Linked DNA regions of Homo sapiens: region 2 is linked to region 1. The links are contacts of gene promoters, found by promoter capture Hi-C in human tissues and cell types (Jung and others, 2019). All regions are on one chromosome and are shown on one strand. The core of a region is centred on a gene start or on the middle of the fragment in contact, and the rest is flanking DNA. Distances in the headings are between cores, read along the strand shown.

Region 1 (2,517 bases), core at 8-2,507:
CAGGCTTCTGTCACCTTCCTAACTTGCCTCATCCGAGTCACTGTAATGGGAATGGGGGGAAAATTCCCCGTCGCTTCTGTGGGACCGAGGCGAAGTTTTGCTGTTTTCCTCCTGCACTGGCTGCAAGATGCTCCCGGGGAGAGAAGGAGACAAATTCTTTTGCGCCATCATCGCTGTCAGGGCGCTGTCCTCGAAAGTCGAGAAGTGCAGAGCGTCCAGCTGCACCGAGTACCCTCCCGCAGAAGCTGGGGCTGAGAAGCGAGTCCGGCAACTCCCGGGCGGGGTCGGCCGCTGGCTCCCTCCGGAAGCCTGCTGAGCCCCAGCTGCGGTCGCGTTGCCCGCGCCCCCTTCATAGGAGGCCGCGGTGCGAAGGTGGTGGTGGTCGCTTTTGCAGGAGGCTGGAGGCGGCGGTGGCTGTTCCCCTCCGCTGGGCGTTTGTAGCAGCTCGGACAAGGCGTTGATGTAGATTTGGGCCATCTGCAGGGTCTCATATTTGGACAGCTTCTTGTCGTTGTTGAACGACGGGATAACATTGCGCAGCTGGTCGAAGGCGTGGTTCAGCCCATGCATCCTGCGCCGCTCCCTGGCGTTGGCTGCTAGCCGTCTCTGCTTCTGCACCCCATTCACCTGTTTGCTGGAAGGGGCCCGTTGGCGGCTGCAGCCCAGCTCGTCTACCACCACCCCGCCTTTCAGCTTGCACAGCTGTTCCCGCACTTTCACCGGCCCGGGGCTCTTGCTGCTGCTGGCACCGCCGCTGCTCCTCCTTACCAGCTCCCCCCGGCCGTCCACCTCGTCCCGGGGCGCAGCGGCCTCTGAGGCACCCAGCTCCGGGGAATGTAGCAAATACTGGGCGGCGCGTGCCGTGCAGATGCCCTGCAAAGTGGGAGCCAGCCAGGCGCGTGGGTCGGTGCTGTCCAGGAGGGACAGCTCAGGCGGGTAGACGGGATGCTCTCTCGCCTGCAAAGTTGCAGGTGGCTGCGGCGGCGGCGGCGGTTGCGGGAGATGATGCGGCTGGGGCTGGCGATGGTGGTCTCCCAACTCCTTCACTTCAGCCCACTCTTCTGCATGCAGCAGGCGGGACATTGCACTGCAAAGGCTCGGAGGCTCAGGATCGGAGGCAGCACTGGGACACCAGCTCAACCAAAAAAAAGGCCCTTTCCGGGTCTCTTCTGCAACGTCTTATTTTTTTTTCCCTCCTCGACCCTCCCCCACCCACTCGGAGATCACACACCAGGTCGCGTGCAACTATGCTTCTCCGGTTGCTGAAGGCGCTGCGCCCCTTTAAAAAGCGGCACGCGCCACTCAGTCTCCCCCCGCTCCTCTCCCAACCCCCTCCTCGCGCCGGTCGCGTGTCTTCTCAGCCAATGGAGGGCGCGGGCAGGCGCGTGCGAGCAGCCAATCAAAGAGTTTTTACACCCCGAGAAAAGTTCTTGTGTGCAGAGGACTCCCAAGCCTGCTCAGGTTTTTTTTTTTTTTTCCTTCTTTTAAATTCGTCAGATTCATATGTTAATTGCAGGGCTGTAATTCGACTCCGGTGTGTGTCACCACCCCGGCGGCTGGGGTGCGGGAGCGGTGCGGAGCCGGCTCTCGGCTGGTGCCCAAGCTGACTCGGGTCAGATGTGCACGACCGCGGGCGGCTCTGGGCGATTCTGGACCCGCCAGGCGCCCAGAAGCCACTCAAAGCAGAGAGAAGGCCGCCTACCCTGTGCTGCCCCCAAGCTAGGATCACAGCTCCCACTTCTGATGCCCAAGCATTTACGATTTCTCATGTATAATAGGATGTTTGTATTTATGTATGCAGGTATTTATAAATCTCTCATGCATGTTCATAGATATATAACTGCTACATGACGTCCATCATTTAAGATTGCTGTTGGAATAAAGGGGGAAAACCCACTCGTCTCAGAGTATGTTTCTTACTTTTGCTCCATCTTTTCATTTTTTACTTCAGATCTCTTAGTTCGACTTCGTCATATGATCTTTTTCTTAATGGAAAATAGAGCTGCGGTGTAGTGATAGCACACCAAATTCCAGATCCCCCAATTCTCTCTGTCCCCTTTCCCCAGCACCCTGCGGCCAATTAGGATTGTAATCTGCCTAAATCTCTCCGTTGAGTGTAATTTAGGGCCAGAATATTTTACGGTATTATGCAGAGTTTCAACACACACAGTAGGACTCCTCATTAAATGCCCAGCCAGGGGAGGGTGCCCAAAGTAAAATGAAAGGCGCCTGCATTCCCTGCAATCCTTAACACTTTCAAGGCACAGAAGTCCCAAGTTACCTACCCTTTTGCCTCGATCGCCCTCTCTTTACTGCGGGCTCGTGGCTTCCTCAGTTTAACCTCCTCCCGCCCCTCCGTTTAGTTAGGGTGGGCTTCCCCTTTCCAGCCCCCACCCCCACCCCACTCCGCCCCATACAATCAGGGAGGTCCTTGGCAAGGGGGGGAGGCCAATTCCCAGGTGAACGCCCCCTCCGGTCCTATTAGCCTCGGCCTAGTCTATTCACAGCAAAGAGCCA
Region 2 (2,517 bases), core at 13-2,512, 370 kb before region 1:
TTCTGTGGGTATTGTTTCCATGAGTACTACTGAGGTATCTATCAGAGAATAAGCTTCACAAAACCAAAATGTCTATAGAGACAATGTTGTAAGGATATGTATTGAGCATTAACTATTGCAGAACAAAGATAATATGATGTTTAAAAGAAAGACAGTACAGTTTATAATGGTTATATGATCTGTCAATGTTCACCTCCTAAAAGGCAAAGAATGATAGGAACATATGAAAAAAATGTTTAACTGGTTTTCAGTAAAACAGTTGAAGTGTATTTAGTGTTGCTATCCTGAGACCAATGTGTGTATATTGTTGGGTAAAACAAATTAATAATTATATTCTAATTATTTCTTTTTTTTTCGAGAACCACAATTCTCAGAGTAGAAGAAAGGAAACAGAGATATAATAGAGAGAGGTTATAGTACAAACCCTACAGCGCAAGTGGAATGGTCTTTTATTTGAATTGGAAATATCAATATGAACTTATGAGATGTGATACACACACAGACACAATGTGTGTTTGTTTTCCATCTTTGTCCACCGAAAAGGCCTAGGAAGTGACTAGCCCAGTACACAGCCCTAGTACCATGATCATAATCTTTGAATATCATTTACTGCTAACAGAAACCTGGACTTCTTTGAAAAAGAGCAGATTACAGTATGCAATGGAAAATGCACAAGGTGAGACTGAAATATCTTCCTATACCAAAAAGCAAGGAAATTATCAAAGACCACTAATACCATGTCAAAAAGATTCAGAGGTCAACTTGAGGTTCCTACTGGCCAAAGATGGGGCAGTTTGAGCTTCAATGTGATTAAAAATTGCAGTGATTTGAAAGCCATCAAATATGTTGAAATCCAGGAGTTCTTACTGATTTTTTTTTAAACTGGTTGACTTTGGAGGATGAAAGGAAAACAATTTATTATCGTGAAAACTGATAAACAGATGGAAAGAATTAAGCTTTATCCTGTCTTTACTCTTTGAAGGCTTCTACTAGATAATTGAAGAAGAGGTAAGGGAAAGTGTCTCTTTATAAAAGTATTCCAACTAGCAAATGAGAAAAAAACTATAAATTGGAATTACTTAGCAAGCCTGGCTCATTTACAAAATCATGAGATATAAAAAAATGGCTATTGTTCTAAGCCACTAAATTTTGGGAGTAGTTTGTCATGCAGTATTAGATAATTGAAACATATCCAAATATTTTCTACATTTTTGTCTTGAGTGTACCAATTCTTCCAGTTAAAATTAAAATGTTTTCTTTTTTCTATCTTAAAATCCCTATACTCAAAAACTGCCTGAAAATCTTATGCTCTTTTTGTCAAGTTTTGAGTAGTTCAGTCTAAAAATCACCTTTTAATATACTTTGTGTCCTTACATTTTCTCTATCTTCTTTTACAGAATAATTATTTCCCACAATAGTGTCTAATTCTTCTTTCTCAGGAGTGTAAATGAGATTAAAGGCATCTCTTCTTTAGAAATAGCTACTGAATCATAGAAAAGCATCATTATTTCTAATTTTTGTTAAAGGGCTTTATGGGATTAAACATGGCCATTAAGAGAAACTTCCTAGAATATAGACCATAAAATAGAATTTTGTCAGCAGGGCAACTCAAATGTGGTTAGAATAAGATATTGCTTCAAGGGTCCCTATGGGGATAGAATTCACCTTTCTTTTATTCTTTTTCTATTCTTTTATTATTGTTATTATTTTAGACAGGGTCTCACTCTCACCCAGGCTGGAGTACAGTGATCATGGCTCACTGTAGCCTCGACCTTCCCAGACTCAGGAGATCCTCCCATCTCAGTCCCCTGAGTAGCTGGGACTAATGTTGCACACCACCACATCCAGCTAATTTTTGTATTTTTTCTAGAGATGGTGTCTCGCTCTGTTGCCCAGGTTGGCTTTGAACTCCTGGACTCAAGCAATCCTCTTACCCCAGCCTCCCAAAGTGTTGGGATTACAGGTGTGAGCCACCATGCCCCACAGAATTCACTTTTTAAATTAAAGTACTTATGTATGGCTGCAAGAATCATTTTAATTACCTGTTAGTTTTTAATGGGCTCAGTGAAAATGTTTGATAGAATCCTCAAATTTCTTAAATAGGAGAAAAGACTGTGGGAATTTTATTGTTATTTCTTTTTGCTTCATACTTACCAAAATAAAACCATGAAGCAATTTGAGGAAGGAGCAGCCCTTCCAAAATTGAACTGAATTGATTAAGAAACCAAACAAAAAAACGAACAGCAACAGAGATTAAAAATGAGATTTGTAAACTTGGATCCTTTCTTAACTTGGTATCTTAGAAATGTAAACCACACCTGGTTGGTAATGGAAACTTGTGTAAACTAATCTTGCCTCCCACACATGAATATAAAATGGAAAAGACAAGATACCAAGTCATAAAACTAAAAAACAACTTTCTTCCTTGGTAACAAGAAAGTAAGCCAAATATTACCAATTCGTAAGCAAATACTTCTTTAAGTAGAGTAATGATTCTTAATTTGGGAAGGTAGAGGG

What was found. The method cuts DNA at HindIII sites, captures the fragments that hold promoters and counts their contacts. A contact is called where the count stands out against the background at its distance.
Region 2: a contact is called between a fragment that was not itself captured here and the fragment with the promoter of ATOH1 in region 1, in 2 of the 25 tissues and cell types used here (H1 embryonic stem cells and hippocampus).

The regions. Positions count from the first base shown.
Region 1 is chr4:93,827,493-93,830,009 of GRCh38, reverse strand. ATOH1 (atonal bHLH transcription factor 1) reads right to left here and starts at 1,257. Exons shown (of 1, transcript NM_005172.2): 1 at 1-1,257. The coding sequence starts at 1,083. The coding sequence ends at 19. RefSeq lists an enhancer at 2,435-2,517. The HindIII fragment of the contact is 12,246 bases long and covers 1-2,517 here.
Region 2 is chr4:94,199,346-94,201,862 of GRCh38, reverse strand. All of the region lies in intron 1 of SMARCAD1-DT (SMARCAD1 divergent transcript), which reads left to right. Among named protein-coding and RNA genes, the nearest start is that of SMARCAD1-DT, 7.0 kb to the left of the region's middle. The HindIII fragment of the contact is 3,236 bases long and covers 1-2,517 here.